Linked DNA regions of Homo sapiens: regions 1, 3 and 4 are each linked to region 2. Evidence: promoter capture Hi-C in human tissues and cell types (Jung and others, 2019). All regions are on one chromosome and are shown on one strand. Each heading gives the region's core, a stretch centred on a gene start or on the middle of the fragment in contact. The rest is flanking DNA. Distances are from core to core; before and after follow the strand shown. Region 1 overlaps DLEU1 (deleted in lymphocytic leukemia 1). Region 2 holds the start of RNASEH2B (ribonuclease H2 subunit B). Region 3 overlaps DLEU1 (deleted in lymphocytic leukemia 1). Region 4 overlaps DLEU1 (deleted in lymphocytic leukemia 1).

Region 1 (2,700 bases), core at 19-2,518, 600 kb after region 2:
ATGTAATTACAGAATTGCATTTCTTACACATCACTGAAAATATTATGGCAAATGTCAGCAAAAAGATTGCAGAATGAAGCTTAGTTCACTCCCAGCTGTCTCTCAGCAGACGTATCCTGCTTCTCAGAAAGCAGAGCTTTGTATATTCATCCAGTTAGAGTCCATCTCTCTAGATGATGAACTGTCATTGCCTCAAATTCCTTGATGATTTTAGCTTAAGCAACTTTCTTTAGCAACTTTTGCTGCCATGATTATCTTCCTCACATGGCTGTCCTCCTTCTGTCAGAGAACAGGGAAAAAACACCATGCTAGCTGGCTAGTATCTTGCCTTCCTCTGCTCTGGTTCCTGCCAAGTTTTCTTTATGCCTTTCATGCCCTAAAGCCTTTGCTGAATCCCCCAAGAACCGATAAATCAAGATTTCTGTCAGGGTTGTTTATACTGCATTACTATCTAAGCCCTTTTCTATACAAATCAAAATGAAACTACACCACTGTTTTAATTTCAAAATTAAATTAAAATATTTCCCATGAAAGGCTGATGGCAGATACTTCAGGTGAAAATCCAACACTAAGAACCATCTATAACCAATTCATTTAACTTGATTGATGCAAGAGTTTGCCATTGTTTTCCCATCTTGGTGATAAAAAGATGTTTCATACCTTCATCATATGGGTTGGTTGAAAATCTCAGAAATTCTTTGATTATGACAGTAAAAATTATAGTAATAAGATAAATAATGGTTTATAATTAAAATTTCAAGAGCAGTAAAGATGGTGACTATCAAAGAGTTAAAAGTTAATAATGTAATTTAATAACCTCTGTACCCGGTGAAACATCGAAACGGTCTATAGTAACTAGGATTTTGTGTATTTTGAACCTATTTTTTATTTTTATTTTAATTATTTCTAATTTTGTACTCCTTGAAATAAAAAACCTGTTAATTCAAGAATAAGTTAAGCAAAATTTGTTATATACTAGCAAGTAACTACTTGCATAGTTGCAAAGCTCTACTTATTTTTTTTTTCTGTTTGCAAATTCAAACTCCCATAGTTCTTGGGCACTAATTATACCCTCAACTTACTCAGCTTTTGGTGGAGTTGGGCATAGTTAACCCTTCATTCCTTTTTGAAGCATGTTTCTCTGTTGGTTTCTCTGATCATACATTGTCCTGGGTTTCCTTCAACCCCATTAGCTGTTCCTCCTCAGCTTCCTGTACTGGCTTTACCTCATTTACCCACCTTGAATTGTTTGTGTTCCTCAGAACTCAGTCCTAAACTTTCTTTTTGCTACACTTTCCTTATTTAAATATGTCACTCCTGAGATTATAAAGACTATTTTCTTCTTGACTTCCAATGCTACATCTTTGGCCTACACTTCTTCCCTCTCTCAACTTCTGCACATGGATGTTTTAAAGGGCTTAAACTTTACATGGAAAATATAAAAGGAATTAAAATTCAACTATTCAAAGAATAAAGGATCTAGAATAAAATTGTGTTTTCCAGAATTTTATATGAATAGAATCAAACAGTATGTATCCTTTTGTGCCTGGCTTCTTTTATTCACCAAAATGATTTTGAGATTCATCCATGTTGTTATATGCATCCATAGTTCATTCCTTTGTATTGATGAGTAGTAGTCCATTGTATAAATCACTATTTATTTATACAGTCACCTGTTGATGGACCTTTGAGTTGTTTTCAATTTGGAACCGTTAAAAATAAAGCTGCTGTGAACATTCATGTACAGGTTTTGTAGGAACATATGCTTTCTTTTGGGTAAATGCCCAGGAGTGGAATGGCTGGGTCATGCTATAGGCATATGTTTAACATTTTCAGAAACTGCCAAGCTGTTTTCCAAATGGTACAACAAAAATGGTTGCACCATCTTAAAGTCCCATCAGCAAATTGTGGGAGTTCCAGTTGCTCCACAGCTTTGCCTTGCCAGCATTGGGTCTTTTTGATTTTTGCTATTCTAAGGGGTGATGTTGAACCATCTTTAAGTGCGTTGTTGCACCGTTTATATACCATTTTTTTGTGAAGTATCTGTTTAAACCTTTTAACCATTTTCTTGGAGTTGTAAGAGTTCTTTGTATATTCTGAATACAAGTCTTCTGTTTAATACATGAGCTAAGAATATTTTCTCCCAGTGTGTGGCTTGCATTTCTGTTCTCTTTATGGTGTCTTTCAAGGAACTAATGTTTTAATTCTGGTAAGTCTAAGTAATCAATTTTTTTCTTTACAATTAATGAATTTTGTGTTCTACCTAAGAAACCTTTGACTACCCAGGGTCATAAATCAAAACCACAATGAGATATCATCTCACACCAGTCAGAATACCTATTATTAAAAACTCAAAAAACAACAGATACTGGTGAGGTTGCAGAGAAAAAGGAATGGTTATATATTGTTGGTGGGAATGTAAATTAGTTCAACCATTGTGAAAAGCAGCTTGGAGATTTCTCAAAGAACTTAAAACAGCCTTACCATTCAACCCCGCGATCCCATTACTGGATCTATATCCAAAAGAAAATAAATCATTCTACCATAAAGATACACTCAATTGCATGTTCATCGCAACACTCTTCACAATAGCAAAGACATGGAATCAACCTAGATACCCGTCAACAGTGGATTGGATAAAGAAAACGTGGTACAGATACACCATGGAGTCCTATACAGCCATAAAAAAGAATGAAATCG
Region 2 (2,700 bases), core at 70-2,569:
TGTATACGTATGAAAAGTTCAGTGAGTTGCATACTTAAAATCCGTACACTTTATGTATGTTTTATTTTTAGAGGCAAAAAATATTATTGACAGCCTGTCATGTAAACATTTTCAATAACCATCATAAAACTCTAAATTCCTGGGAAAGAATATTGTTATCAGAGTATATTTACTGCCACAAACACTGCATTTGCTGAGCTAAAGTCAAAACTTAATACAGGGAACAGGAGATGTTCCTTTTTTCCAATGTTACATATATAAAAAGACCAAACCTTTCTGGCTTGCACTCCCTAGGCCAAATTCCTTTAACTGTGTCATTTAATCGGTCCTTCCTTGTGTGGCACTGGCTGTCCACTGTCCCAAGCCCTCGCATGTCCTGGATGGCCGGTCATCATCCACACGGGGGCTGAAAGGCCCGGCTCCAGCACTCCTGTGGTCATCATCCTGCTGAATCGCTTTGAACTACCCTTGGCCTAACCGCGACTCCCATCCCGCTTCCCTCCTGCCTCGCCACTGCAGGCCTGTCCCTTTGCTTTCTTAAAACTGCGCACCGTCTGAGGCCACTTCGAGCCTACTGGATCCCTGGTTCCAACCCAGTAGGATCACAGAAGCAGGGCCAGCTGCCAGGTAGGGGACACCAAGGGCAGAAACCTCCGGGGCCCGCAGCGCACCGGTGACCGCGAACCCGCGTGGCTCCCCTCAGGCTGAGTCGGCTTCCACCCTCCCACCCGAGCCACCGGGGATCAGGGCCCGGGAAACACGCTCGGTCCTTTTCGGCGCTTCCGGGTTTGAAAACCGCGGCTTGCTATGACGTGTGACCAAAATGCGGGGCCAGCTGTCCCAGAGAGAATCCCATCCCGCGCCGGGCCGGGTAGTGGGAGCCACCGGGGTGGGGGGCGGCGCGCCCGGGGTCGCGGGCCGCTCCGCCAGTTCTTGGGCCGACCCCGCCGCCCGGGCGCGCGTGTTTACCTGAAACCAGGAACACGTGCTGCCGGGCGCCAACCCCGTCCCCGCAGTCCACGCCAGCGGCCATGCCGCCCGCCTCTTCCGGGGCGCCGCAGGCTCAGCGCCGCGGGCCTCAGTCTCCCAGCCCCGCCGAAAATGGCGGGAGAAGGGTCTGTTCCGGGTGGCGCGGCGCGCTGAGGGACCGGCAGCGCCCGGGAGGAGGCCCAGGGACCGAATTTCGTTTCGTTTCCGAGACCAGCCTGCTGCTCGTGTTACGTTTTTAAATTTAGCGCCAGGCGAGGGGCTCTGAATGCCGGCCGGTGGCCGCAGGCAACGGGAAGGGGCCGCGGCCTCTCCCTCGCGGCTCCGCTAGTGGTAGGTGCTCATCGCGCGCCGCAGGGCGCCGAGTGACGCGGAGCGGGGCGGGGTCGCCGGGGCCCCGCGCTCTGTGGCTGCACCCAGCGGCCCTCCATGGTCTAGCCAGCGGGCTAGGATTGGGTCTGCGGGGTGTGTGCCCGGACAACGGGTGACGCCCGCCACACCCCCGGGGCCGGGGGACTCACCTGGAGCTAGTCCGTGTTAAGGACAATAGCAGTCACATCGGAATCCGAATGCAACTCTTAGCCATGGTCCTCAATTATTTGTGAATATATATTGGTCATCAGTTGCATTCTGTGTTGCTATTGATGTGAGAATATGTGTGCATTGTGAGCTACAAGGGATGTCCTCAATTTGGACTCCGTCCTCATCACTAAAAGAGGTGCACAGTTTTGGGCTCAGAATATGAATTTGTTGTTTTGGAGAACGCTGTATACTGAGTTAAAAACTTAGACATTTATTTAAAAAGTGATGTTTAAAAAGTTAGAGCCATGAAATTTGGGGATTTAAACTTTTAAAAATAACATTTTAATTGAAAAGTGTTGTTTGGTACATGGTTTTTAAGAAGAAAGTACATATTCCTTTCATACTTTAGAGAAAAGCACGGGCCAGGCGCAGTGGCTCAGGCCTGTAATCCCAGCACTTTGGGAGGCCGAGGCGGGCGGATCGCCTGAGGTCAGGAGCTGGAGACCAGCCTGACCAACAAGGTGAAACTCCGTCTCTACTGAAAATACAAAAATTAGCTGGGTGTGGTGGTGCACATCTGTAATCCCAGCTACTACGGAGGCTGAGGCACAAGAATCACTTGAACCCAGGAGATGGAGGTTGCAGTGAACCGAGATCCCACCACTGCACTCTGGCCTGGGCTACAGAGCTGGACTCTGTCAAAAAAAACAAAAACAAAAAAATCCACAAAAACCTATTTTTTTTTTTTTTAAAGAAAAGCATGATGTATCTCTTTTATCCCAGATCCCAGGGGTAACTGTTAACATTTCTTCTCTATTCTTGCAGAATTTTTCCATGCAAAAACAAGTTAATGTCTTATTTTTGCACAATTGAAAGAATAATATACATAACTCATGCACTTTGCTTTTCATGTTTAATCTTGAAGATAGTTAAATTTAGCAGCACTAAATTTATCTCGGCCCTCTGAAAAGGTTTTTAACTTCAAACCTGTTTCCCATGGGGTGAGACCAATACAGCTGCAGTTGATTGCAGGACACAGCTGGTGGAGAAGAGGCCTTTCTGGCTGAGGAAAGGCGCCTCTTGCCAGTTTTGGGGCAAGGAGCAGCAGATTGGTACTGCTCTGATCTTCCCTCTCCCCCAAAACGACTGTAGAAGATGCTGTGGTGTATAGCACAAATCCCCAGGCACACC
Region 3 (2,732 bases), core at 129-2,628, 560 kb after region 2:
TAATATTATGGACTTTGGGTTCATCCAATATCCCTTCTTTAACCCTTCTCTTCTGACTCACCATATTTCACTCCCTTCCTAAAGTCATTCATGTCAACTGGTGTCAACCAAGTGGGATTCTTACATTTCACAAAAGTGAGAGGCATCCCAATGCTCTCTTTAATTTCTTTTTTTTTTTCTTTTTTTTTGAGACAGAGTCTTGCCCTGTCGGCCAGGCTGGGGTACAGTGGCATGATCTCAGCTCACTGCAACCTCTGTCTCCCAAGCTCAAACGATTTTCCTGCCTCAGCCTCCCGAGTAGCTGGGATTACAGGTGTGTGCCACCATGCCCGGCTAATTTTTGTATTTTTAGTAGAGATGGGGTTTCACCATGTTGGCCAGGCTGGTCTCAAACTCCTGACCTCAGGTAATCTGCCTACCTCAGCCTCCCAAAGTGCTGGGATTACAGGCGTGAGGCACCGTGCCCGGCCTCTTTAATTTCTAGCAAAAGCAAACTAAGCTGCCATTAGAATGTGCCTTGCAAATATCCAGCTACAGGGAAGGTAATTGACCAAGGTCTTCAGCTGCTGCACTCTGAGATCCACCATCACATTTGTACCACGTCCATACTGGCTGCTCCCAGCCACAGGCTGCTCCTAGCCAATGACTGGATGTGGTGGGCAAGCCTGTTCCTGGGACACAAGGGACTCCTCTGACAGCCAACTTTGGTTCACAGACTCCATAACAACCTTGCTGAAGCTTCCTTAGGCTGCACAATGGTCTAGGACACTTCCACCTAACCTTCCTTCCCTCTCTCCATTTGTGAGATAGACTTGTTCCATAGTCTAACAGCTCTTTCTGCTCCCTACCCATTTTCTCCCAGACAGGTATTTCCCCTAACAAAATCCTTGCACATTTAATCCCACCCTGATGTCTGTCTCTCAGACTAAGACAGCTTGCTTTTTCATTCTTGGCCTTTTTCAATAAAAATGGGAGGGCAGTGGTCTTAGTATGCCAATATAGGCTCCTTACATTCTGCTAGATTGGGTCGCAGTTTGGAGAAAACAGATTCAAATCAGTGTAGTAGAAAACAGATATCACATCTTCTTTCTTTCAAGGCACAGATTACCCTATATACTAGTGAACAGTCTCAAGCCTGTTTGAGGGGAAGGGGAAGAGTTGATGAGCAATACTAAAAATCATCTTATTAAAAATATAAGTAAGATAATTCAATGCCCTTTATGTAGTTATATGTGACAATGTGAACTAGGGCTTATTTCCTGAAATATTTTTACAATCTTTTGTTCCAAAACTGATATGAAAATTTTCTCTTACCAGGGGATGCATTGGGCTGAAATGTCATGGAATGCTTTTCTGGGACTCTCAGCTCCATCAAACCATAAATGAGATTGGTGGTGGGGAGAATCTTCTCTGGCCTATACACTTTCCATGGGAACCATCATGGCCATCCCATAGGCTTACTAGAAGAGCTGCTGTGACCTTTATTCCTGCTTAGCCCAATCTCAGCAGACCAGGGAATAACAAGAACCATTGATTCCCCTGAGCTGCGCCAATGTGGTTCCAGCTGTAACAGCACAAGCCCTGGAACACTGCTCATTTGATAAGAAAAGAAGGTACCACTTCCTTTCTTCTTCCTTCATCCCTACTAGTTTTAGAAAAATTAGGGACTGAGCCAGACCTTGCTAGTTGCCTGTCCATTCTCCTCTTTTCAAAAAATCTCAGCTTTGTGCAAAGTGACAATAGGTCCATCTAAAAATACTATATTTTCTAGTCTGCAAGCCAAGGAGAGAGGCCTCAGGAGAAACCAGCCCTTCTGACACCTTGATCTTGGACTTCTAGACTCCGGAACTGTGAGAAAATAAATTTCTGTTGGTTAAGCCATCTAGTCTGTGGTGTTTTGTTAAGGCACCCCTAGCAAGCTAATGCAAGACTCATATTCAGAAGATAGAGAGAGCTTTATAAAACAATATCAAAAAGACAGTCAATACAATGAGAACTGTACAAAAAAAATTACAGAAAGCACTTCACGAAAGAGGATATCCAAATAACCAATAAACATATGAAATGAAAAGTACCTCAACTTTAGGTGATTCATTAGTTATTAGGGAAATAAAAATTAAAAACATTATATGATACTATCACATACTCATTGGAATGGCCAAAATTGAAGGGATGGATAATACCAAGTGTTGCCAAGGATATGGAACAACTGAAATTTTGTACACTACTAGTGGAATGATAAATTGATAAAAAATACTCTGAGAAATTGTTTTGCAGGAGCATAGCTAAATATAAACACAATCTACAATCCAGGGATTCTTCATATAGGTATATATCCACAGAAATGTGAACATATGTTCACCAAAAGATGTGTACTAGAATAGTCATTGTAGCATAATTTATAATTACTAAAACCCGCAAGCTACCTGAATGCCCAACAATACCGGAATGGATTTTTTAAAATTTATATTTATACATTAGAATATAGCAGTGAGAATAAATGTTCTACAATTCTATGAAATAATATGGGTGATTCTCACGAACATTATGTTAAACAAAAGAAGTCAGACACAAAAGAGTATCTGCTATATGACTCCATAAAGTTCAAAATCAGGCAAAATTAATCTATGCCATTCTTTGGGGTATATAAGAGGTATTTCAAGGGAATAAGGATTCTGAAGTGCTGGAAATGTTCTAGTGTGTCTCCTGGGTGCCAGTTACATTGGTATGTT
Region 4 (2,700 bases), core at 178-2,677, 520 kb after region 2:
TACTTATCTGCTTTCTGTCACTATAAATATCTGAATTTTCTAGATTTGTGTATAAATAAAATCATACAGTATGTCATTTTTATCTGCTTCTATCAGTATAATTACATTGAATTTCACTCATGTTGCATGTGCTAATAGTTCATTTATTTTATTGATAAGTATCCCATTGTATAGCTATACCACCGTTTATTTATCCATTCATCTATTGATGGACACTGATGGACATATGGGTTGTTTCTAGTTTTTGACTATTAAAATAAAGCTTCTATGAATAATCATGTTCAGTCCTTGTATAGACCCATACTTTGATTGCTCTTCAGTAAATACCTGTAAAATGACTGGGTTATTTGCTATCTATATGTTTAGCTTTTAAAGAAACTAGCTATTTTCTAGAATGATTGTACCATTTTACACATCCATCAGCAGTACATGAGAGTTCCAGTTGCTTCCTGCCCTCGACTTGCTATGGTCAGTCTTTATTCTAACAGATGTGTAGTGCTATCTCAGTGTGGTTTTAATCTGCCCCTAAGGAATAATGATATTGAACATTTTTAATGCATTTATCTGCCATCCATATGTCCTTTATGGTAAAGTACCTGTTCTAATATTTTGCCCTATTTTACTGGTTTATTTGTTCTCTTATTACTATGTTAAGGGAATTCTTTATATATTCTGTATGCAAGTCTTATTAGATATGTGATTTGAAAATATTTTCTTCCAATAGGTGGATATTCTTCATTTTCTTAAGTTTCTTGCAAAGAATAGAGGTTCTTAATTTGAATGAAGTCCAATTTATATTTTTTTCTTTTATGGTTTATTCTTTTGGTATGGGATTTATAAACATTTTTCCTAATACCTTGTCACAAAGATGTTCTCTTCTGTTTCCTTCTAGAAATTTTATATTTTTAGATCTTGAAAGTAGGCCTATGATCTCTTTTGGATTTGGATATGTTGCAAGGTTTGAATCAAAGGAGTTTTCTGCTTTTTTTTTTTCCTGTTTTTATGAATGGATGATCAATTGTTAAGAAGACTATGCTTTCTCTGTTGAAGTGCCTTTAAACCTTTATAAAAGTCAATTCACCAGATACATGAGATGTATGTTTCCATTATATCTACTTATATATTGTCCATCTTGATACCATTACCACACTACCTTGATTACAATAGTTTTATGTCTCAAAATTAGGTAGTATGAGTCCCCCAACTTTGTTGTTTTTCAAAATTATCTTGGCTATTCTAAGTCCTTTGCATTTCTATATAAATTTTAGAATCATCTTATCAACTTCTACCAAAAAAAAAAAAAAAGATAAAAGAAAAAAAAAGCCTTCTGGGATTTTCACTGGGAATGCTTTGAATTTATACATCAATTTGGAGACAACTAACAATATTGATTCTTTCATTCCAAGAATTCAGAATATTGTTCCATTTATTTATATCTTCTTTAGTTTTTCTTAGCAATGTTAAGTAGTTTACAACAGGGATCCCCAGCCCCTGGGCCACGTGGACCAATACTGGTTCATGGCCTGTTAGGAACCAAGCCACACAGCAGGAGGTGAGCAGTGGGCGAGCAAGGGAAGCTTCATCATATTCACAGCTGCTCCCCACTGCTCACATTACTGCCTGAGCTCCGCCTCCTGTCAGATCAGCGGCGGCACTGGAGCCTCACAAGAACGCAAACCCTATTGTGAACTGCACATGGGAGGAATCTAGGTTGCATGCTCCTTATTAGAATCTAATGCCTGCCTGATGATCTGTCACTGTCTCCCATCAACCCCATATGGAGTCCCATATAAGCTTGTAGGAAAACAAGCTCAGGGCTTCCACTGATTCTACATTATGGTGAGTTGTAAAATTATTTCATTACATATTACAATGTAATAATAATAGAAATAAATTGCAAAATTAATATAATGTGCTTGAATCATCCTGAAACCATCCCCCGACCGCCCCTGGTCTGTGGAAGAATTGTCTTCCACAAAACCTGTCCTCGGTGCCAAAAACATTGGGGACTGCTGGTTTACAATATACAGATATTACGATTATTTTTAGCAACTTCTTTTATATCCATATTATTTCTCTATACAGATTATATCTAAAAGTAGCAGGTCACTAATACTTCTCCTGTGTCTTCACTGGGCCTCCATTTCCTCATCTGTGAAGACAGAATAAAAACAACTGCTGCCAAAGTTGGGCACAAAATTGCATGTGTAAGGCACCTAACATTTGTGCCTATTGCACAATGCTGCTGGTCTGATTACAGAGTTAATAAGTTTTGTTTAATAAAAGGATGAAGAGGGAAATAGAGGAGTCATAAGGGTGAGGCAACAAAGTGTGGGTTCAAAGCAAGAGGCATCCAATCTGATAAGATTGAGCCTAAAAACAAAACAAAACAAAACAAAACAAAACCCAATGACCACAACAGCACTAATTGCTCAGAAATTAACCCGAAGACTCAGATAGCCAAATGAGGTGGTGTGGTGGAAGCAGTTGTAATGCTCCTGGCTAGACAGAGAATACATAGTAAGAATCTGTTGTGTGCACATACATTAAGAAATTAACAGGTGATGTTCCAGTTATAGGAATGGGAGCAACCAACAGAAATTTAGCCAGGAAAGGAGCTTGAGTATGTAGCACTGAATACTCTCTGCATATCTGGGTAGACTGTAACCTTGTCCATGTCCAGATAAGAACTAAATAAAG

Evidence for each region. Contacts are between HindIII fragments. The study calls those that stand out against the background at their distance.
Region 1: a fragment that was not itself captured here is called in contact with the fragment with the promoter of RNASEH2B in region 2 in 2 of the 25 tissues and cell types used here (spleen and stomach).
Region 3: a fragment that was not itself captured here is called in contact with the fragment with the promoter of RNASEH2B in region 2 in 1 of the 25 tissues and cell types used here (lymphoblastoid cells).
Region 4: a fragment that was not itself captured here is called in contact with the fragment with the promoter of RNASEH2B in region 2 in 4 of the 25 tissues and cell types used here (heart right ventricle, mesenchymal stem cells, pancreas and 1 more).

Annotation. Positions count from the first base shown.
Region 1 is chr13:50,307,100-50,309,799 of GRCh38, reverse strand. The region is part of intron 2 of DLEU1 (deleted in lymphocytic leukemia 1); the gene reads right to left. Among named protein-coding and RNA genes, the nearest start is that of DLEU2, 180 kb to the right of the region's middle. The HindIII fragment of the contact is 5,964 bases long and covers 1-2,700 here.
Region 2 is chr13:50,908,410-50,911,109 of GRCh38, reverse strand. RNASEH2B (ribonuclease H2 subunit B) reads right to left here and starts at 1,319. Exons shown (of 11, transcript NM_024570.4): 1 at 970-1,319. The coding sequence starts at 1,033. RNASEH2B-AS1 (RNASEH2B antisense RNA 1) reads left to right here and starts at 398. Exons shown (of 3, transcript NR_046552.1): 1 at 398-627. RefSeq lists silencers at 565-614, 825-1,064, 1,075-1,504. The HindIII fragment of the contact is 12,674 bases long and covers 1-2,700 here.
Region 3 is chr13:50,349,998-50,352,729 of GRCh38, reverse strand. All of the region lies in intron 2 of DLEU1 (deleted in lymphocytic leukemia 1), which reads right to left. Among named protein-coding and RNA genes, the nearest start is that of DLEU1-AS1, 180 kb to the left of the region's middle. The HindIII fragment of the contact is 4,953 bases long and covers 1-2,732 here.
Region 4 is chr13:50,392,729-50,395,428 of GRCh38, reverse strand. All of the region lies in intron 3 of DLEU1 (deleted in lymphocytic leukemia 1), which reads right to left. Among named protein-coding and RNA genes, the nearest start is that of DLEU1-AS1, 130 kb to the left of the region's middle. The HindIII fragment of the contact is 4,618 bases long and covers 1-2,700 here.